Linked DNA regions of Homo sapiens: all the other regions are linked to region 3. Evidence: promoter capture Hi-C in 16 types of primary human blood cells and fetal thymus (Javierre and others, 2016). All regions are on one chromosome and are shown on one strand. The core of a region is centred on a gene start or on the middle of the fragment in contact, and the rest is flanking DNA. Distances in the headings are between cores, read along the strand shown.

What was found. The method cuts DNA at HindIII sites, captures the fragments that hold promoters and counts their contacts. A CHiCAGO score of 5 or more calls a contact.
Region 1: a contact is called between a fragment that was not itself captured here and the fragment with the promoter of USPL1 in region 3, in 1 of 17 cell types (total B cells). The highest score is 5.2, in total B cells.
Region 2: a contact is called between a fragment that was not itself captured here and the fragment with the promoter of USPL1 in region 3, in 3 of 17 cell types (naive CD4 T cells, non-activated CD4 T cells and total CD4 T cells). The highest score is 5.7, in naive CD4 T cells.
Region 4: a contact is called between a fragment that was not itself captured here and the fragment with the promoter of USPL1 in region 3, in 1 of 17 cell types (neutrophils). The highest score is 5.1, in neutrophils.
Region 5: a contact is called between a fragment that was not itself captured here and the fragment with the promoter of USPL1 in region 3, in 1 of 17 cell types (naive CD4 T cells). The highest score is 7.5, in naive CD4 T cells.
Region 6: a fragment that was not itself captured here is called in contact with the fragment with the promoter of USPL1 in region 3 in 1 of 17 cell types (naive CD4 T cells); the score reaches 6.8 in naive CD4 T cells.
Region 7: a contact is called between a fragment that was not itself captured here and the fragment with the promoter of USPL1 in region 3, in 1 of 17 cell types (endothelial precursors). The highest score is 5.2, in endothelial precursors.

What each region holds. Positions count from the first base shown.
Region 1 is chr13:29,818,907-29,822,051 of GRCh38, forward strand. All of the region lies in intron 1 of UBL3 (ubiquitin like 3), which reads right to left. Among named protein-coding and RNA genes, the nearest start is that of UBL3, 30 kb to the right of the region's middle. The HindIII fragment of the contact is 547 bases long and covers 1,167-1,713 here.
Region 2 is chr13:29,953,871-29,956,914 of GRCh38, forward strand. No RefSeq gene overlaps it. Among named protein-coding and RNA genes, the nearest start is that of LINC00544, 19 kb to the left of the region's middle. The HindIII fragment of the contact is 1,754 bases long and covers 463-2,216 here.
Region 3 is chr13:30,616,109-30,619,461 of GRCh38, forward strand. USPL1 (ubiquitin specific peptidase like 1) reads left to right here and starts at 1,812. Exons shown (of 9, transcript NM_005800.5): 1 at 1,812-1,948. It also overlaps a transcript of HMGB1 not described here. RefSeq lists enhancers at 1,210-1,279, 1,300-1,439, 1,490-1,819, 1,840-1,889. The HindIII fragment of the contact is 4,577 bases long and covers 1-3,353 here.
Region 4 is chr13:30,103,090-30,106,452 of GRCh38, forward strand. It overlaps LINC00365 (long intergenic non-protein coding RNA 365), which reads right to left. Exons shown (of 2, transcript NR_046998.1): 2 at 89-2,606. Among named protein-coding and RNA genes, the nearest start is that of LINC00365, 4.1 kb to the right of the region's middle. The HindIII fragment of the contact is 8,986 bases long and covers 1-3,363 here.
Region 5 is chr13:29,762,419-29,765,597 of GRCh38, forward strand. It overlaps UBL3 (ubiquitin like 3), which reads right to left. Exons shown (of 5, transcript NM_007106.4): 5 at 1,953-3,179. Among named protein-coding and RNA genes, the nearest start is that of UBL3, 87 kb to the right of the region's middle. The HindIII fragment of the contact is 1,204 bases long and covers 1,035-2,238 here.
Region 6 is chr13:29,779,119-29,782,585 of GRCh38, forward strand. The region is part of intron 1 of UBL3 (ubiquitin like 3); the gene reads right to left. Among named protein-coding and RNA genes, the nearest start is that of UBL3, 70 kb to the right of the region's middle. The HindIII fragment of the contact is 2,766 bases long and covers 352-3,117 here.
Region 7 is chr13:31,140,890-31,143,975 of GRCh38, forward strand. HSPH1 (heat shock protein family H (Hsp110) member 1) reads right to left here. Exons shown (of 18, transcript NM_006644.4): 12 at 2,903-3,034; 13 at 233-370. Among named protein-coding and RNA genes, the nearest start is that of HSPH1, 19 kb to the right of the region's middle. The HindIII fragment of the contact is 1,942 bases long and covers 743-2,684 here.

The DNA of each region.
Region 1 (3,145 bases), core at 190-2,689, 800 kb before region 3:
TTATATCTGTGTGTTTGATAATATTAGGTAATTGCTGCTAATTTTTAAGGTGTGATAAGAGTATTATGGTTGTTTTAAAAATAATCACTATATATTACATATCTGGGAATATTTATGAAAGATGTGGAATTTGATTCAAAATAATTTAGAAGGAGCAAGTAGAGCAAGTACAAATACAGATAAAACATTACTGTCTATGAGGTGACAACTGTTGAAGCTGAGATATGGATACATGGAAGTTTTATTATAATATTCTCTCTACTTCTGTATGTTTGAAATTTTTCATGAAAGTTAAAATAAAAGTGCTTAGAAAATCCCACCTAAGTGACTCTCTAAATATAATCTGAGAGAGTTAAACCCCATGTTTAGCTTTGGGACAGAAAAGGAGAACTATGAAGCGTAAAACGAAAGGCAAAGGCCAAGTAAGGTGATTTTGTTGCATTTACCCTTAACCACATCAAGGCTATCCATATCAGAAATCCTGGGATAAAGAAAGATGCTCAGAGTTCAAAAGAAACAGTTACCTGTGAATACAACATTTGGCCAAGTCCATAAACTAAGGAGATTGTTACAATGGTACTTCTACAAAGCTGGAAAAAAATTAACCTACCAATCACAGGACTAGAAGATTTAATACAATAAAGCAGTTATACTTTCTGTAATAGAACCTATATAATTACTGCTTACTTATGATAATGAATTAAAATACTAGGATACTGCAAAGTATGTAGCTTTCTTTTTATGAGCATTTTTCAAAAATAAAATTTCTTCTACCAGAAAAGACATCACTTTTTTTAAAAAAGGTAAAAGTTAGAAGAGAACCATATTTCCAAGTTGGAGAGAAATGATTTAGAAAGAATCCAAGGACCACACCACCGCCCCCACCCCCAAGAATTAATGATAAAGATTCATTAACGTCAAAGGGCTGATTTCAAGACCTGAGACCTCTATCACAGGAGATAATTCAAGGACAATAATCCTTTTTCCCCAATCCCTACCCCCAAAACTTTTCTATAGACAACTGCAAAGATAAAATGTCAACCATTTCAAAAACGTAAAAGGTTCTACAAATAAGCTTTATAGGATGATTTATGGTGTTCCCATAAGCCTAACAATGTTTCTTAACTTATTCCAACATATGGCTTTTTCTTTCTTTTCTGGAAAGAAGCTTCTCTAATGAAGTCCTAATAGTAGTATGCGAGTGACCCTGAAAAGAAAGATGTATCAGAAATTAGAATCCCACTGAGAGGCCCTCAGAGTTCCTTTTTTTTTTTTTTTTTTTTTTTGAGATGGAGTCTTGCTCTGTCACCCAGGCTGGAGAGCTCAGTGGCTCGATCTCGGCTCACTGCAACCTCTGCCTCCCAGGTTCAAGCAATTCTCTTGCCTCAGCCTCCCAAGTATCTGGGACAACAGGCATGTGCCATCATGCCCAGCTAATTTTTGCATTTTTGTAGAGATGGGGTTTCACCACGTTGGCCAGGCTGGTCTTGAACTCCTGACCTCAGGTGATCCGCCTGCCTCGGCCTCCCAAAGTGCTGAGATTACAGGAGTGAGCCACCATGCCTGGCCTGAAGTCCTCAGACTTTTTATAGTAACTCAGAATGAACTCTGAGTTTAGGATACTCCCCAGATTCCTTGCGATCCTGGAGTTTATTTTTCACTCATGGTTCCTATATTTGAAATAGTATTAAACATTTAAAAACTATTATATCAAGCTTTTTTCTCCCTTGAGTTATCATCCACTACATTTCTGTCCTTTCATTCTAATGAATTAACTATAGACATTGCTTAAATCAACATATTAGGTTCTGACCATGAGAAAAACAGTAAACATAACTACATTCTAAAGTTACTGAAGTCAACCCTTCAGCTTATTTGCTATTATTTGTTAAATGACTGTTGTCTTTTTGTTCTATAATCTTACCACATGCATATATAAAATGAACTGCCTTATTTCTAATATATATAGTATTTAATAGCAGAGTATGCCTTCCCAGAATTCTGGGAATAACAGACTGTCACATGATAGGCTCTGGAAACAGAATGCCAGGGTTTGAATCCTGGCTCCACCAGTTACCAGAAAACTGCTTTAAAATCTCCATGTTTCAGCTTCCTTATCTGTAAAATGGGGATAATAATAATACCTACCTAATAGCATTGTAGGGAAATTTTACTGAGTAAACATGTGTGAAGCATAAAACAGTGCCCACCTGGGCACTCAATAGATGCCAGCAACTGGTATTTCACTATTAAAAAATAACACAAAGAAGAAGCTTACTAAGTACCAAAAAAGCTTTGTTAAAAAAAAGACTATGAAATCTGAGCAGTGTTTCAATATATTTATACTTTTTTAACCTATTACTTATAGGTTATATATGTGTTTGATTTATTACACTAAACTCATCACAAAGAAAATACCCTTCTTGTAATATAGCAAAGCTGTGTATACATACCAGGACTAAACTTAAATTTGTCTTTATTTTTTACAGCTGTACTGCGTCATGTCATAGTAATCACAACTCTTGGGTAACTAGTCAAATTGCTCAGGAAGCCAGATGTAATACCTTTTGCAGACATTTATTGGTAAATCTAACTTTAAAACCTCTAAAGTAAGATCGGGCTACTACTGCATTCCAGATACTAAATGTCACTGGAACATGAAGACATTCTCATTTCCAAAAGAACATGCTAACTTCTTTGGTTGAGCTTTCTAACACTTTGTATGTGTATCATTTATTCATTACATACGTACTCCACAGGTAGCAAAGTTTAGTTTTTAGCCAATAAAAATCTTTTATTTGCTTTATATTCTCTAGTACGAGACCATATGAAAATTTTTTACTAATTTTCTGTAAGTTTACTTTTGTCTTGTTCCATTGATTTCGTACAGAAATACAAAATATGAATTATCTGACTGCACATAAATCCCCAAAACAGAATCATCAACACAGTGGCTCTCAAGGAACATAGATGAAATTAAAAACAATTTTATGAGTAATTGCTAGGTGATTACAACTAGTCCTAAAGCTCTTTGTTAAATTAAATTACCTGAATTAGAAGATCCAGAAACTTGCTCTCATTCAGTACTTTTGAGAAAGTGTTGATGTTCTTAATTCTGATATAATTAACAATACCACCACTGGAA
Region 2 (3,044 bases), core at 90-2,589, 660 kb before region 3:
GATCCAACAGAGTAATGCAGTCGCTTTAAAAAGCGAATGTAATTGTAAGCTCCATTAAATAAAAATACCGTGTCCAGATAATAAGTAACAGTAACACTATATGCTGGTCAGATGATAATTGGAAAATAATGTTCGCTACAAGGCATTATAATTAAGATGTCTCATTTAGAAAGGCAGGGTGGAGGTGCTGAGGGCTTTAGAAACGGTTCCTGATCTAGGCTGGCCGGAGGCTCTGAGTGTGTTTAGCTTGGAAGAGAGAAAACAAGGAACTATCTTCCTGTCTTCAAATATTGGAGGAGGTGTTGTGAGGACGAAGGAATAAATCGGTTTTATTTTAGGACAAGACAGAAGAGGAGCAAAGAGTGAGTAAATGTCAAGGGAAAGACAGAGGAAGTAAATAAGGAAGGAAGTGGCAAGGAGGTTGATTTTGAGTTCAATAGACGAAAACAACTTGCTGAAAAAAGCTTTCTAACAAACTAAAGTGCTCAGAATTGGAAATGGCACTCTCCAACAATGGAGAGGTCACTGTCACTTCTCAGAATGTAAGCTACATGGTCATTTGTCAAGGACCTTGAGTTCCAGCATCAGGTAGAATGTTAGCTGTCTAAGTTCTCATTCATCTACAGGACACGGGGCTTCTGCGATGGGCCGGGCTTGTCCTGCGGAGACTGTCGCCAAGGCAGGAAGTGGAACACAAGTACGTGGGCTCCTTGAGCAAAGTGCTGTTAAACAGATGGGACACTCTAGATGCATTAGTTAAAGCCAAGCATGTTTCTAGACACTTCTAGAGAAGGAAACTTTCCCTAACGTCACAGCGGGGTCGGGGGTAAAATGGGCGGGTCTTCGTGAGAAGTGAGCTCCTTCTATGACAGGTATGAAAGAGAAAGCTCGCTGGTTCCAGGTGACAGCTCCCATCGAAAATTCCAGGAGCTGCTCTGGAGGAAATGGTGCTGAGATTTGCAAAGGGCAAAGAACAAATGATGCAAGAGACGGAGGAAATATGGACTCGGCCCAAACACAGTCCCGTCAGGGGCCGTCTGTGGGAATGTGCCGCTGTTCTTGTGCTATTTCAGCGCAAAATATTTAGGAAATAGAGAGACACACAGAATGGCAATTCAAACTGATTCATCTACCTGATTTAAAAAAATAAAATATTGCTTCAGCTTAGTCCAAAATGTAACACATGGAGGTATAACCTTTTAGTTAAAAAATCATTCTTTTTCTTACCATACTGAGAGATCTTTGCCGGTAGAGAAAATGTCCTGTTTATTTTGGTATCCCTAGAGTTTAACATAGAGTCTACATATAGCAAAAGTTTCAATAAACATTTAGTATACCAAACAGAAATGTGATTTTTGGATGGCAGAGGGGTTGAGATATCTGGGCAAGAACAAAGTGTGATTTTCACTTTCTCTGGTCTTCTGTTGTCCCAGCAAAACCTCCCTCTGCTCCAAGGACAGCAGGATGCCCTGAGCTCTTGGTTGCAGCACAGCGTCCTCTAGCCCCCTCCATGGCACCCTCAGCTGACTTACTCACTCATGCATTCAGCAAATGTCCTTTGAGCCCCTACCATGTGCTAGGCTCCATGCCAGGGCTGGGTTATAGTGACAGAAAGACCAGTAGGATCCCTGCTTCCTGCAACTCTTCCTCTGAGTCTGCATTGGTGGGAGTGATGGCATTGGGAGTTGAGTACCTGGCATCAATTAAACAGAAAAAAAAAGTTTCTTTTAAAAATTTCCAATGGAGATGTGAAAGTATATATATATATTTTTTGAGACGGAGTTTCACTCTTGTTTCCCAGGCTGGAGTGCAGTGGTGTGATCTTGGCTCACTGTAACCTCTACCTCCTGGGTTCAAGTGATTCTCCTGCCTCAGCCTCCCAAGTCACTAGGATTACAGGTGCCCACCACTATGCCCGGCTAAGTTTTTTTATTTTTAGTAGAGATGGGGTTTCACCATGTTGGCCAGGCTGGTCTCGAACTCCTGACCTCAGGTTTTATCCACCCACCTCAGCCTCCCAAAGTGCTGGGATTACAGACATGAGCCACCTGGCCCGGCTGTGAAAATATTTTTTTAAAGAACTCTATTCGATAACCTCTGTGATTTGGTATTTATTTGATCCCAAAACATATCCAGATAACAAGTATAAACACAAACAAACAAACAAAAAACACTATGCCCAGAAATACTGATCAATCAGAAGAGGAGTTGATCCAAGCTTTAAGCACTTTTTTTATGTTAAAAAAGTCAGGTGCGGTGTCTCACGCCTGTAATCCTAGCACTTTGGGAGGCCGAGGTGGGTGGATCACCTGAGGTCAGGAGTTCAAGACCAGCCTGACCAACATGGTGAAATCCTGTCTCTCCTAAAAACACCAAAAATTAGCTGGGCATAGTGGTGTACACCTGTAATCCCAGCTACTCAGGAGGCTGAGACAGGAGAATCACTTGAACCCAGGAGGTGGATGTTGCAGTGAGCTGAGATTGTGCCATTGCACTCCAGCCTGGGCAACAGAGCAAAACTCCATCTCAAAAAAAAAAAAAAAAAAAAAAGTAAAATGAGTACAGTCAAACACCATTCACACTTGACTTGACCAAAGCCAGTATGATAAATATGAATTGTTCTCAGCTACCAAGCGTTGAGAGGATCACTCTCTACACCTGCTGCCTGCATGGCCATCAGTGCTTTCCAACAGGTTCACAAACAAGAGAGGTTTGAAAGCGTTGAAATTCTGCATGTAAATCGAGTCACCTTCTCACTAAAGGATTCATTTCAACTCATATCCTCAGACAAGAAAGGTAAAAAAGATGAATAGAGAAATGGAAAGGAAAGAGTTGAGAAGAAAGTGTGAAGAAGGGCAGACTCAGAGCTTGGAGGCCAATTAAAATAAGAAGAGGCTGAAGGAAAGGCAGGGAGAATAAGAAAAGAGGGGAGGAAGGGAAAAATGAAGAAAAAGAGGAACTAAAATTTTGCAGAGTTGCTGAGTTCCAGCTCAAACGTGATGGAAAGGAGTGTGTTGTTGACCTGCAAGGGACCCCTGCTGCCT
Region 3 (3,353 bases), core at 562-3,061:
GTTTTCTAGTCAATCTCTGCTGATCTCCTGTACCAAAGTTCTTCCCTTTATAAGTCTTGTACTACCTTTTACAAGAGGAAAAAGCTCTAGAGCGAAAACACAGAACACACTAAAATCCCTTCCTTTCTCTTTACAACTCAAGCCCCGCCTCCATTTTGTTTCTGTTACTAATTTTTCTTCTGAAAAAATACCAAATTTACACTGAAAGACTAAAATTCAACTTTGCAGACAACGTTTTAAAAAATACAATTCAGTTTGGTGATGTTGTTTTGCAGTCTTACAATTTTAGCTACATTTTAACTGAACCAATTGTTTTGTTCAATTTATGAGTTAATACTCAGCAAGTTTGTTTTTTACAAATAGTGTATTCCATTCTAAAAATGGAAGTAGCAGTGGTGAACAAGAAAACAACCCTCTGAGTTTTGTCTATTTCAGGAGGAAGTACTACTTTCTCCAATTTTAATCACAATTCATAAAAAAGAAAAACCTAACTAGCTAGATCTTAAATATACAAATACATTAACAATCTAGTAAAGCAACAGAAAAAGGTAAACAAACTAACCAGCCTATTTTTGTCTGGAGAAACCCCAACAAACTGCTGGATTCCTTGGCCATTTGCATTCAGAAGTACCAAAAACTAAAATCCTTTTTACTAAATAATTTCTTCTACACGAGACTTGTTTCCTCCACACCACCCTATCCAAATTGTCAGCATTATTCCAGAATATAATCATTTAGTTTGAGACCACTAAAAAACCCCGCAGTCCAAAATACCAATTGTGGTTTTTCTGTAAAGAAATGGTCAGAAACTACAAATTGTTATCCTAGGACACAGAACCAATCGACCAAAAGGACTTCTGGAATATGCTGCCCCCAAGATTTAGAATGCACAGGCAGAAATAGCATACGCGGTCACGATGTCCCTTAAGCCACATGACCTTCCTACGAAAGCAAAGGCTTAAACTTATCAAATGAGAACTCCCCCTTTCTCTGAAGTTAAAACAAGGCAGGGCAGCTGGAATTAGAGCAGCAGGGACAGATCGGCTGTTGACTAGTCAGAACGGGTCGTGGAATGCAAAGTCCCTGCGCTTTCGCTGCTCCCCTTACCGTGAGAAGATCTGGGAGGGAGGAAAGGAGGAGAAACACCCCAGAATCCTGGTAGAAAAGCCCCTGGCCTCGAAGATGGGCTCTAGGGAGACAGGGAGGGGCAGCTCCGTGTGTGATGACCCTTTGTGAACATGCACTCTGTGGCAGCTTCAGCTCCACCGAGGCTTTGGGAGAGCGGACTACGGATGCCCGGCGCGGCCCAGCTGTGAAGGCCGCGCCGGCGGAGAGGGTCCATGGCACCCCCGCCGGCTTCGGAAGCCCTTCCCTCTCCCACCTCCGCGGGTCACCCCAGGAACCAGCGGCTCCCGACCACGCTCGCGCGGACCACGGAACAGCGACGCGCAAGCAGGTCTCTTTCGTCAGCGTAATCCCTCCGCAGAAAGCCGCGCACTAGTTTTAATCACGCCCCACCCCCTGGCCGCTGGCGCCACCTCCGCCACTCGGGCGCTTTCCAGCAGCTTCCAGAAACGTCGCCTCCCCAAACCCAGCCACTCACACATGGCGGGCTCAGCAGCCACCGGCCCCGCCCCTCCTCGTCGCCGCAGTCGCAACTGCGTCTGCGGCCACAGGGCGGACAGCCACGCCTCTGCGGAGGGCGACCGGAAGTGCTCACGTCTTCACCTTCCCCGCCACGCCACCGTCCTTTCAGGCCCAGCGTGCAGCAGGAAGGAGGACTCTTTTGCCGCGGACTCAAGCCGGAAGCCGCCTTCCTAGTGGAGACGCGAGTGGGGGAGGAGCAGTCCGAGGGGAACGTGGGTTGAACGTTGCAACTAGGGTGGAGATCAAGCTGGAACAGGAGTTCCGATCGACCCGGTACCAAGAAGGGGAGTGCCCGCGGCAGGTAAGGGAGAAGAGGGAGGGGTTTCTTTCCGCTCTCGAAATTGGGAAAAGAGACAGAGCTGGGATGACCTATGGGGTAGTCGGCGCGCTGAAAGGATGGGCTGGGCTGGGACGGGGTTCAAGTGGGAAAGGTTGATGATTAAGGTATAGAGTTGGACTTACAGATCCGTTTGGGCGCAGAGAGGTGAACGCTGAAGAGAAACCAGAGTTTGTTTTCGTTTTCCAAGGAGCGTGGAGATGGGCAGGGTTAACGGACCCTGCGCCTCCTTCGGCTTCTTAGTTTGGGTGTTGAAACTCACCTCCTTTGGTCCTGTTCGTCTCTGATTCAAGACAGTTGGGTTTGGTACCTGACAGGGCTGGGTGCAGAAAGCTGACCCTGTTCCTCGGCTTCCAGGTCGGTTGTGGCCTCGCTTTTGACAGTTCACGTGCCGAGCCTACTCGCTCTCGGAGGGCGAGCTCAAATGGGTGGGTTTAAGGCCCCCTCTTCGAACAGCTGTTTCCCTGGGTTTCTCCATTTTGCACACAGGAGTGTGAATTAAGTTTAATTGAATACTTTTTGCGATTCCCAGGGCCACCTTGACACGTTCATTGTGCTATCTAACTGGGTTCATGCTGGGCTAATAATTCACATTAAGGCTTCTGGAGTATAAGTGGTTCACAGAAGTATGAAAAGGGGATGTTAGAAGAAAGATGCTGGGGGTGAAGTAGAGTTGAGGAAGACAGAACTGGAAAGCTAGGTTGGTTTCACAGTACAATGAGCTTTAGGTCATAATACTACCTTTAGGTTATATTGGGCTGTTTGGACGGAGTTTGCTGTAATCAGGCTAGAGTAAATAGAGAATTTTAAACTAAGCATTGACAGGCTCAGACTTGTAGAGGCATCATTTTGACAGTGATATGGAAGGGAAAGAGGTAGAGATTTGAGACCTTTCCAAAGAACTGTCCACAGAATTTGGTGACTTACTGTGCGAAGAGGGAAATAAAGAATAGGGAACAACTCAAGACTTTCTAGTCTGTGTGTTTGGAAGGATGGAGACGCCCACATTTAAGTGAGATATGGGAAGGAGGAGCAGATTGTTTTTGAAGGGAGGAAGAGCAGTTACTTAGGGTCAAATTAAGTTGTAAAATCCCCCCCGGGATTTTGTATGTAAGTCAAAGTGAATTGTATTTGGAAGAAGAACTGGGGAGCCCACCTCTGGTATTTTTTTTATGTCCCTCATATGGACAAATAAACCTCTGGTATTAAATGAATTTTCTTTTGGGGGATTCTATATATTCGGGATTTCAACCACCAACCTATCTGGTTTTTCCCGCTGAAATGTTGGGTGATGGAATCAGGAGAGCAGATTTGGAGACTCTTTATATTTTATAATTGAGAGAGACAAAGAGAAAACCGTTTGATTTGA
Region 4 (3,363 bases), core at 433-2,932, 510 kb before region 3:
GTATCCGGCTCATGGTGAGCCCTCATCACATGTTTGTCAAATGAATGATTAAGTGAACAAACCCAGATATCAGTTATATCACAAGAAATATTTCCTGGTTATGCCCTTAATCTGTTGCATCCAAATTTATTCAAGAGTTACATGATGAAGAGCAAACAAAACACATAATTCTTTTGCTAAAGTGGAGGATGCATTCCAAGGACATACTTCTTGGTTTGACAGTTCATTTCTAGAGGCAGAAATATTGCAGGCAATCATCAGATGTAGCCCAAGGCAGCAGACAAGGGTTTATCTTGCAAACATCATGAAATACTTTATAAATTAGGCAATTTCAGTCTGCAAGAGATAAAGACATACTCAGCTTGTCTCAGTGGAGGTCTATCAGTTAGGATTCTTAATATTGCATGTGACAAAAGACCTAACTCAAGCTGCATTAAACAACAAAGAGGACGTATTGGCTTCATAACTGAAAAGTCTAGACACAGGACGTCCTTCTTCGGGAAAGGCATGATTCTGTGGCCTACTGATGTACCAGCGGACAAGTTCCTCTCTGTGGTTTACTTGCCAGCCATGCATTTCTTTGACCTTAGGTTGCACAAGGTCATTCAGGTTCTCCTTTCATGGAAACAAAAGGGCTGCAGCCACCCCACCCTCTCATCCTCATAACCCCTGAGCTAGAGAAGAGAGCATTTTTCTTCCAGAATCTTCTGCAGTGAGTCTCAAACCTGACTGATGAGCAGAATCACACGACAAGCTGATTTCTAGAGTCCCATGCCAGCATCTCCACCCAAACTTGGTGTATCTGGTATATGGCCTGAGAATCTTCAATTATTGAATATCCTTTACAGAAAACTCTAAAGGAGAAACCAAAATTGTCCCATAACTCCACCTTTCAGATGACACTTACTGAAGTTCTCCACTAAAACTAATCAATGCACAAAGTAGGAAGTAGGAAAATCAAGCAGTACTGAATGAAAGGTAAGAACCTCTCTTCTCATCCTTCCCTCAAAGTTGCCACTGTTATCAGCTTCTTGTAGATTTTCCATTGAAAAAGAATTTGTGCATTTACCAAAGTATATGGTGTGTCATTTTAAAAGTTATGTGGAAAATGGATTACACCATTTATACTGCTCTGCTGCTTGATTTTTTCATTGCACAACATAACTCAGAGACTGCTCTATATCAGCAAATGGAGTTCCTACTAAATCTCTTTAAAAGATCTAAGAGTGTGCCACAGTTTATTTATCCAGGTTCCTATTGATGGACATTGAGGTTGTTTGCTATACAAATAATGCTGCTGTGGGCATCCATTCTTGCCGACGTTGATACTCTTCTGTGGGAAATTTCAGAATCAGCTCCCATCAGTAGAATTGCTGGGTCAAAGGTTACTCATGTTTTAAAAATGTTGATGTATGTTGACAAAATTCCTTTAGTTGAAATTTACTAGTCTGGTCTCTATTACCATTTCGAACTTCACAAATTGTGCCCTTAGTTACACGCGGGTGCCTTATGGCAGTATGGGATGGGGGCGCAGAGAATCTATGTTTTTAAAAGTTCATCATGTGATTCAGAAGCTCATGCAGGTGTGAGAACCACCGCCCCACCTTGTCACACAGGTGCCAAAATCCACCAAGTTTGCATTCACTGGCATCTGCTTCCATACTCTCATCAGCAATGGGCATCATGAAACTTTATAATTTTTGCTAATCAGATTCATGAAAAGTGGTCTGGCATTGTTCTGATTTGCGTCTCTTTATTTCTGAGGAAGGATGAGCAGCTCTTCATATGTTTCTTGGTCACTGGTATTTCTTTTCCATGTTCTGCCAGTTCAGATTCCTGGCCCAGCATTTATTGAGTTGTTTGTATATTTCTTATTTATAGACATTTGTTGCAAATTAAAGAAATTAGTGTGTCTTCCATCTATATTCCAAATACTGTTTTCCCCTTGTTTATAATTTCTTCTGACTGATTCATGAGTTTGTTTGTTTGTTTAGCTTTACAGAAGGATTTTGCTTCATTCTGTTTTAATATGGTGATATTTTTAAATCTTTGGTCTTTATGGTTTCTGGAGGAATCAAGTTTTTAAAACTCCCCAGGTGATTCTGATGAGTTTGAGAGTCACTGTCTTACAGGATATAAATAAGGAACCGAATACAGTCCCTACCCTTTGGGGTTTACAACTGTATGGGAGAAAGACGAGCTTATACATAAAAGAGAACAAGAGATAAAGGGCACTGCGAAGTTTCAAATGAGCCATGCAGATTCTTGGCTTGGCATCAAGAGCCTGCCCACTCCACGCTCCTCTCCTCAGCACCCTTTCCTCTCAGATCCTCGTGGAGGTGAGTGGGAGATCCCATCAGGCAGCAGAAGGCAGAGAAAAGCCAGCCACACAGTGGAGGGGAGGTGGCCAGGCCAGGGCGGCAGCGTAGAACAGTGGAAGCGAAGCCTTCAGGCCCGAGAGAACAGGCTCCTGGTCTCAGAGTGCTCTTAGAGGCCATCGTCCCCCTCCTACCTCCAGGGCCCGGGAGGCCTGGCTGCAGGGGTGGCCCTGCCCTCTTCTGGACAAGCCATGAGGTAGAGTCCTTTCCTCCTCTATCTTGCCCAACCTTAGAAAATCAAGTAAATAAATAAAAGGAACACTTGAGTCAGTTTTTGCTTTGTTCCATTAGAAATTCTGAGAAAAGCTAGATTTCCATGGGCTTCAGTGGGGAGAGGAGAGCATAAAGTTTCATGAAGGGAACCAAGCAGAGTTCCAGCATGGGGCCTCTGGAGGGAAGGAACTGGTTCTCACTCAACCCTGTTTCCCTCACAGCTTCTAGAACAGGGTCCTAGATTAGATATACTGCGTCCTGAATGAATGAATCAATCAATGGGAATGTATTCGAGCTGGGCGTGGAAAGACTAAGGATAAGGACCATTTCTTTATTTTCCTAGTGAACAAGAGTGCCTGATACACAGTAAGTACCTAATAGTGTTGATGTTATCAGGGGAGGTGAGGATGATGGTGTGAGCAAAGGTGCAACATTAAGAACACAAAAATCACATTCACAGGACAGTGAGGGTAGCTTATTTCATGAAAGATTCTGTGAAGAAATTAGACACAGAAAAACAAGTTGGGAGCCTCAAATGCCAGGTAAGGAAGGTGGAGTTCTATCTGTCTACAGGTAGAGTCACTGATGACTGTGTTCAGGCCACGACATGGTTAAAATCAGTGTTTTAGGAAGACTTGTTTGGTGGCATAAAGCAGGATGGATTAGAAGTTAGAAGGAAATTCAAAAACACATTTGCTCATTATCTTCTTCTTCAAAAAATGTAGTCATATTCAGTACATTAAAATAATCCAATAATATTGATTCAATTATG
Region 5 (3,179 bases), core at 387-2,886, 850 kb before region 3:
TAACCTGACAATCATATTTTTGTCTTTTTTCATTATTCACATACTCCTCATTTACTTTCCCTCTCAGGTCTAAGTTCCCTTTGTGTATTCTTGATATAGTTTCCCACCTTTATTAGACCCATTTCTTTTGAACAGTGTATTTTTGTACCCTAGTAACAAATAGCATCTCAGATTTTGACAGTTATGTTTATGTCCTTATGTTAACATGTCTAAGCTCTATGTATGACCTGGTACCTCGCATATACACATCTGAAGCTGTGTCATTACTGGGTCCCCTATTTTCCTTCTATTCCAGAGCTTATTTTTGAGATGTCCCCACTCATCTTCCTTTTAAATGAACACAGCATCATCCACATTTTCTCTGGCCTTTTCATAAGCTACTTCCATAAAGTTTAGAGTATACGTTGATGCCCAGCACTTTATTTCCAACATAAGGCCTTCTGACAGGTTTGCTAGCTTGCATGAGTTCTCAGACAAATCAGTGCTCTAAATATTTATTTTAAAATAAACCTTACAACCCTCTAAACTATGTGTTAATTTTTATAAATGAAAAAACTGAAGCTCAGATATTAAGTAACTTCTTCAAAATCACCCAGAACAAAGTCAGGCTTGACTCCAAAGCCCAGCTATTCTTGTGGTTTTCTGAACTCTGAGGACTGACGAACAGCATCAGTCAAAATGTAGATGTGTTAAAATTATCAGACTTAAAAAAAAATGCTCCTGAGAAACACTGGGGGAGTGGCACCCTAATGGAACCCAGGTGAGTGATGCCCACGGAAAACCATGTGGTAAGGAAGGACATAAGGGGAAACAGGTTCCAGCATGCAGGGAAGAAGAAAAACTATCTCGTCTGGCAGACAACTGAGAACTGGCCAACTCCCAGATGTCTTCCTGTATGTTCCTACAAGAATTCTGAGGGTCCCACTCTGCTGCGGCTTGTCCCGGTTCCCCTCCAGGTTCTGCTGCCTCCTTGTATTATTTAACTATAGCAAAGTTTCTCCCACTTCATTGTAAGACTTCCCTTACATCAAATAAGCTTCAAGAACATGTGTAGAAAATAAAAGATACCAAATAATGTTTGAATGTGTAATTACTACATTCTAAAACCAGCCAGACTCTTCTAAGACTTCTAACAACAAACCACTTCCAGAGCCATTTTAGAAAATGTGTTTACCCAACTCCTTTTTTATTGGTTGACTCACGTGGAAGAGATGGGCATTTCCTTTCCCCAAATGGGAATTTACTATGCCTACTCCATATTTCTTGAAAGCTGTCATTTTGAAAAAGAGGAATATGAAAAATATTAAAAGACAAACATCTGACATCACTGTCGAAGACTATAAAATAATGTAGTAAGTGAAATTGGTTTTCACATTTCAGTACTGCTTTAAACTCTGATATTTAAGAACTAAGTGTTTCTCATTTAGTTCTATCCATGATCTCTTTCAGAAGTCAACCACCTCCTGTGTAAAAGCCTCATAGAAGCCACTGCCTTCTGAAGGAAACACACCAACTGGCAGGGGGTCAGGGTAAGCCAGGAGTCACACCCAACTACCACTGCTCACACCCAAGAACCCCACCCTACCCTGGCCACAAAAACTGTGCCTAGACTCCAGCACAGCCTGCAGCTGTGTTTCAATTATAGCTGTGTTTGTAATTATAGGTCATGTGCCTTCTCCCCCACCCCAATCACTCCACCCCAATCACTCCATTTGGCTAACAAGTGACCATATTATAACACAAAAATGGAAAACAAACTGGAATGCTCGAAAAAGTTACAAATAAAAACGGTATGAAGGCATATTAAATTTTGGCTGATACTTCCCTTTGATTTTGCTAAACTATAGCAAAGGCTGGCTCAATGTTGATTTTTACTGAAGAGTATCATTAACTGAAGAAAGAAAAAAAGACATAAACAGTAGTGAAATAAAGAATAGGCAAATACACCAGAATTATGAATAGAAGCCATTTTAAAGAAGAGAAATATTCTACAACAGATGAAGAAAGTTTTAATTTCTTTTCACATTAAACATTGTTTACCACAATCAGCTAACAGAAATTACTGTAACATTGGTCACGATGACTTCATAAAACTAAAGATAAATGTTATGAGGAAACTTCATTTAACGTGAATGGTAATGTTAGATACTGTATTTTTCCATGGTAAAATACAACTTATCTTGAAGAGAAAGCAAATAGTTCAGATCAGGGAGACATGCTGAGGTTTTAATAAAGAAAAGCTTGGCCTTGTCCAGAACACTTAACAAAGTTCAGGACAATTTAGGTAAAAGAGATGAGTGAGACACCAGCGTTAGGCAGGGACATAGGCTCATCATTCAGGCTTTATGTACATTACTGGATCTATGCAGCTCTCACCTTTAGATAAGTGAGCTATATTTTTGGCAGAGGGATCTTCAAAAGTAGCCTTGGATATGAGGAATCGTATTTTAACCACCAGGCAGTCCAAGGAATTATTTTTAAAGGGACAGCTGAGTATTTCACGTATATACTATTAAGGCATCTAAATTTTTGGTGTTTTCAGTATATAATTTTACTGCTACTTTTTATTCTTTTTTTTCATATTGTACAACTATGATATTAGGTATTAAGCGACGTAATTCTTTCTCTACTAGTGAACCAGTTTATTTCACTTAGCAAACTCTAAATTGAGGGAAATATATAATCTGAGAACACACAGAAAAATATATTGAAAAACCAATAGAGAATTATTTTTAACCATCATAAAAACTCAATCTTAATTAACTGATAGTCTTTAACTTAAAAAAAGAGTAATCAGAATGAAAATAGGTATTAAAAATAATTACCAGTAGTTTGTTTTACAAAATAGAGCCATAAATTGTTTAATTGCCCAATTAAGCAACTACCAGATTCTTTAGTCAACACTAACAGAATTCACATTTCAGCTAGTCAACAAAGCATATAAATATTTAACATCTCTTGAAGATAACATTTTAGTGATAACGGAGACTACATAATTCTATCCATTGTTGTGACTGTCCACAAATTAACCAGGTTAAATATCAAAGATACATTGGGAATACTCCCCAAAACAACAACAGAATATTAATTAAATGAATTTTAAAAGCTTAAGAAATGAAAGTAGAAAACATGAATGAGACGGTGCTTAAACAATTATTGACCTAATCAAGACCTTTAAA
Region 6 (3,467 bases), core at 485-2,984, 840 kb before region 3:
GCAAGAATGATTACACTCTACGAAAGTACCACCTTGTTTATTTCCTATAGCAAATCAGTAATGAGCAATTCTTCAAGCAAGGAACCTAACATCTATGCAACACAATATGAATTTCAGTCCTCACAGATACATTACTACTCATGGTTTTCTCTTAATGTATGAATAACAAATACATATTACCCTATGAACTTATACGGAATATTTAAGGTTCTTCAGTCATTAATGCCCAAGAAATTCTGCCCCTAGTAGTTCAGCCACTTGTGTTTAACTAGAAAAAATATAATTAAATTCAAGCTTTCTAATTAAGAGTTATGCAAATTATGTGAACTTAATACTTCTTAAAATTTTTTAAGCTTAAAATTAATTTCCATTGGGCTTTTACTCAAATTATAATATTTAAAAATGATGAAAGGAAATAGATTTAGTCTTTAGGATCTGTAAAGGTGACACCAAAGCCTACTTTTGATTTTCCCTGATGTCTATCAATATGGAAATGGGAAAATAAATGATAGTATATCCTTACCATGGAAATCCATGCAGCTGTTAAACGACATGAGATAAAGACCTGTATGATCTGACATGAACAGATAGCCACAATATATTAAGTGAGAGAAAGCAGCCAGGTATAAAACAGTATTGTGGGAACAACAGAACACATGCCTATTTGCTATGGACTGACTCGCATCTCCCCAAAATCTGTATTGAAGTTTTACCTCCCAAAGTGACTGTGTCTGGAGGATAGGGTAATTAAAGTTAAAGTGAGATCGTAAGGGTGAGGTCCTCGTCTGTACCACAGCGGCCTTATAAGAAGAGAAAGAGCTCGGCTCCTATGCTCTCTCCCTCTTCTCTTCCTGCCCTCCAGGTGGGGAGAGCAAGAAGGCAATGGTATTTTGCCTGTCTACTGTATTTTGCTGTGGCAGCCTAAGTTGAATAATACACACAAAGAAAAATATAAACCAGGCGCGGTGGCTCACGCCTGTAATCCCAGCACTTTGGGAGGCCAAGGCGGGAGGATCACAAGATCAGGAGATCGAGACCATCCTGGCTAACACAGTGAAACCCCGTCTCTACTAAAAACACAAAAAATTAGCCAGGCATGGTGGCGGGCACCTGTAGTCCCAGCTACTCGGGAGGCTGAGGCAGGAGAATGGCGTGAACCTGGGAGGTGGAGCTTGCAGTGAGCCAAGATTGTGCCACTGCACTCCAGCCTGGGCGACAGAGCGAGACTCTGTCTCAAAAAAAAAAAAAAATATATATATATATATATATATATGTGTGTGTGTGTGTGTATATATATATAATAAGTTATATATATATATATAGCAAATAAGAAATGTGAGGCTCCCTTTAAAACGGGAAGCAGCTTTTGATAAAATAGAAACTGATTGGTGAGAAGGTTGACAAAAAAATCAACAAAAACTAAAAACTAAATTACTTGGATCTAAAAACATCTTGTTTATTCAAGTTTCGTTATAAATTCCTTTGCTGTGCTATAACAGGCTACGAAATATAGAATATTCATGGGTTGCTAAACAAGTAACCTGTTTACTAATAAGGTTGAGAAAAGGTATAACTAAGACTACATTTACCTATCCTACCTATCCTATATTTTCTATCTTCAGTGACAAATTTTTCTACTTTGTTTTCCTGTCATTCCATATAAAGAGATCAGGACTCTCTTGCTGCCAAAATGTTTTATTACAGCAACTTGGTTTCTTGCCTCTCTGGTACAGCAGTTTGTAAGTTTATAACTTTGAATTAAATAAAAGTGCTAGCCAGGCGCGGTGGCTCACGCCTGTAATCCCAGCACTTTGCGAGGCTGAGTCAAGTGGATCACCTGAGGTCAGGAGTTCGAGACCAGCCTGGCCAACCTGGTGAAACCCGGTCTCTAATAAAAATACAAAATATTAGCAGAGCATGGTGATGCGCGCTTGTAGTCCCGGCTACTTGGGAGGCTGAGGCAGGAGAATCACTTGAACCCCAGAGGCAGAGGTTGCAGTGAGCCGAGATCACACTACTGCACTCCAGCCTGGGCAACAAGAGCAAAACTCTGCCTCAAAATAAATAAATAAATAAATAGTGCTTCTGACAGTTTAAAACCCTAAAATACAAAGCAGAACTCTGGTTATATTTCAATAGCATGGATGTGTATATCTCACACATATATATGTACAAACTAAAGTCTTGAAGGATATGTACCAAATATAACAGTCCTTATTTCATCTTTAGTTTCTTCATGTATTCCTGCATTTTCTAATTTTCACATTAAGTCTGTATTACTTTTAAAATAGAGTAACATTTAATTCAAAGAGTACTCAATCATTTCAGGATATTCCTAATAAACTATTAATATTTTAAAAAGTTAACGCTATCAAGTACTGTATCGGTATGGGCTTTCAAAGAAATATAAATGATTTTCTTAAGTAGACAAATAAGCATATCAATTGTAATAAATACCGCTCTGGTGGGGGAACGCTGATAATAGGGGAGGCCGTGCATGCATGGGGGAAAAATGTAAATGGGAAATCTCTGCCACCTTCTCAATTTTGCTGTGAACCTAGAACTGCTCTAAAAAATGAAGTTGGCCAGGTGCAGTAGCTCACGGCTGTAATCTCAGCACTTTGGGAGACTGAAGCAGGAGGACAGCTTGAGGCCAGGAGTTTGAGACCAGCCTAGGCAACAAATTGCGACCCTGTCTCTACAAAAAATTAAAAAAAAAAAAAAAAAAAAAAAGCCAGGTGTGGTGGCACATGCCTATAGTACTAGCTACTCTGGAGGCTGAGGCAGGAGGATTACTTGCACCCAGAGTTCGAGGCTGTGGGGATACAGTGCAATGATCATGCCATTGCACTCCAGCCTGGGTGACAGAATGAGACCCCATCTCTAAAAAAAAAAATAAAATAAACATAAATCAACAAAGCCTACTTTTTATAGAAAACATTAAGCACAGAAATATAGAAATACAACATTTAAAAATAAAGTTATAAGATATTCATGGATCCTTTGAAGACTATTCATTGAACCTAAGACCTTCTGTTCTAGATGTCCTTGTTCTAGATGTTCTAGATAATGTTCAATTATCTTTGAACATTCCCAATCTCTTTTTTTCCACTCACAAGCTTAAAAGCTTGTGAGAGGAAAACCAAACCAAACCAAAACAAGACAAAACAAGACACACATACTGTACTCCATAAATTTAACTGGGTTCCTGCCACAAAATTCTCAGCATTTCCTAATTTAAAACTAACACACATCACAGTTGCCAATAAACTGATATTACACTTTCATATTTCAAAAATCAATGGTCTAAAGAGTTCATATTTATCTAGATGTTCAGAATGTTGGAAACTCATAGCCTCTAAATATGTTTGAACCAAATTTAAAAAATATTATTTTAATGTTTATAGGTGGGTATGAATCTTCGGTTTGACACAGACCCTACTACTCCCTCCTTACTCCCCCTGGCC
Region 7 (3,086 bases), core at 464-2,963, 520 kb after region 3:
ATCCAATTTTTTCACAAGAACTCAGCCAATCATGTTATATCAAGCAGAAAGATTTTTTTGTTAAAAAAAATTAAACTGCAAAATTCGTTAGTTTTGTCTTCATCCTATCCCTAAAACTATATAAAACTTGGGATGAGAAAGAATTATGGCCATTTATCTACTAGAAATATAGATATCAGGGCCAAGAAACTAAACATATTTCAAAATAAAAATATTTAATTGAAGTACTTACCTCTGTCTCAATATACATGTTAAGAAGGTCTTTCCCTAACTGCCAGACCAAGTTGGCTTCAATAGGCAGCTCAACATTCACCACCTTTATTTTGGGCTTTTTAGCTTCTGGAGGCTGGTCAACTTTTTTTTCATTTGCCTTGGGAAGAGGAATAAAAAAAGGAAAAAATTTTAAACAACCCACTTGGAAAAACACAAAAAAAATGTCCTCATACTTACTGATGACTTGGGCAAAAATAAAATCTCTAAAAATCATAAAGTTGGAAGGATCTACAGGATCACCTAATTCCCACTATTTTAAATCAGGGCTGCTATTAAATATGCCATACCTTCCTTCAGGAATTCACTGGGATATTTTTCTCTTCTATATTGAACAATCTCTCCTGCTAAAGCTTTTCTTCGCAAGTCTTTACTTTCTAAGCCCTTTAAATATTCTTGTAAATCCCATGAGTCAAAAAGTGAAAATTACTAAATTATCTTTATAGACTCTAGAACCTGTCACCTAAGGATAAGCTTCGACCAGTACAAAACACGTTAGGATCATCTTAATTCCTGTAATATTAAAGGCCCTATATGCCAGTATGCCTGCTTTAATTACAACTAGCACTATGCTGATGAGTGCCTTTTAAAATTTCCTTATTGAACTTGGAGTACATATATATATACTCCATACACATACATACACACACACACACACACACACACACACATTATTACTATCCACCTTTGAATTGTATCATTTCTCATAAGCAACTTTGCAAGGTAAAAAGAGATGAGTCTTAAAGTAGCAAATGGACTGATGTGACACATGCCAATCATTTATGTAGGTTTTTCAAAATATGTAAATACAGGGCTAAAGAAGTAAGTATCTCCTGTGGCCTTCAATTTTCCAAGCCTTTGCTATGCATTTCCATTTCTGCAGGTTCCTACTAATACAAAAATGACAAAGAACACAACTGAGCAGACTCAGTTGTATGACAGATCAGATGACAACCACAGTGTGTAACATGTATCCTGTAGGTAGGATGGTAAAACGGGAAGAGACTGGCCCATGAGGCACAATAATCATAGCCATAGATAATTTTGAGGAGTTACAATGGATTAAAAATCTTAGGCACTTTATCGAAGAAACTGGGTCTAGAAAGTTCAATGACTTGCCTAAAATTAAAGAGATGGAATTAGATCCCACGTTCCAGAGACTGATCTCAGTGTTCCTTAGAAATCACCTATCAAGTGCCATAAGCTGTATCACTACGGATGAGCTAGGCAGTCAGCCTACAGTCCTCCCCACATCATTTTCCTGCTAGTGCACACAATCCTTCAATACATTATGCATGCTCTGAGGGCATGAGCCACAGGAAAGAAAAATGAATCCAATCAAACATACACCTAGGAAGACACTGGAGAGCAACAGATGTTGGGAAACAAATGGATAACAGCACATGTACGGAAGTTAAATGAAGACAAGACAACCTGATAGTACCCAATTAAACCAACTACTGACAAAACCAGCATCACAAAATGGCATTTCAACATGGAATGGATGAGGAACCGTCTCCAAAGGGGTGAGTAATCATGCTCCAAAAGGTTTGAGACTAGTGGTCCTACCTACAACTAAGGAGCATGAATGAGATCCTACCCAATGTCATGTTCTAGACAGGTACTAAGACTATCGGCAAGAGTTGATGTGTATGCTCATCCCAAGTCAAGGAGTGTGCTGTTGAAACTAAGCATCTATTTTTCCAAATAACCACCATCATCACACAACTTAACAGTAGAAAACAGAGAGCAGCTTTCAGAAATCAGAGTCAGGACCCATAGCTCACATTGGGAGCCCCCAGGATCAATGAGGGGACAGAAAAATTAAAAACTGGAAACTTTTACATAGTATAGAAACCTATCCTGACCCAATGAAAGATTCTGTAATTTGCCTGAGGATAAAAAACTCTACCCTCAGAATATAAGAGAAACCAAACAACCAAGAGCAGGCTAATTATTTACATGTAACTTGTACAGAAAATAAAGTTCTACAAAACATACGGTGATTCATAGTTAACAACAGAAATTTTTCAATATCCTTCTGACCATGAATCTTAAAGGTTTGATTACAAACTGTCATTTTCCAAGGCACACAACATCACTATTTAAGTTAGCTTCCAATACCTACTGTGGAAGCAGGACAAAAAAATAATTACCTTGAAGTGCAATCTGGTTATTACCAGATCACCATAATTAATTTACTTAAATTTGACCGATGGCTTGAGAGGAGAAAGTTTACTAGACTCCTATAGCCCATATATTTATCATCTGATTAGTTCAAGTGAAAACTAATCATGTAGCCCTGGTAAATATCAAGTTCTGCCTTTGGTATTAGAAGATACCTCTGCTCTTTGAAAGACAACGAACAGTATACATTAGTCTCTTGTTACTTCGAGTGGCAGTTAATCAAGAGAAGCTTTTAAAAGTTTAAAGCAGGACATTCAATTCCCTTAATTGAGCTTGAATACCTCTAACTGGTTTTAGTTGAAAAATACATAGAAAATCAACAGAAAAAAATCCTACACAGAACGAAATCAATTGGTGCTTGCTCTTGAAACTGCAATTTAATGATATCATTAATGATTACACTTTGCAACATTGTCTAATGGAATGAACTAGAAGAGTCACTCACTTTGTCAGCATCTGGGATTTTGTTTTCTTCTGAGGTAAGTTCAGGTGAAGGGGGAGACTGTGAGGTTTGTTGAGCATCAGTTTGTACCTGGGGCTGTGTTCCAGCTTCACTGTTGTCTTGCTGGACATTTTTCTGAAATGAAAGCCCAGGCACAAAGGATGTAGAAAGCAGGTGTACTTGTATA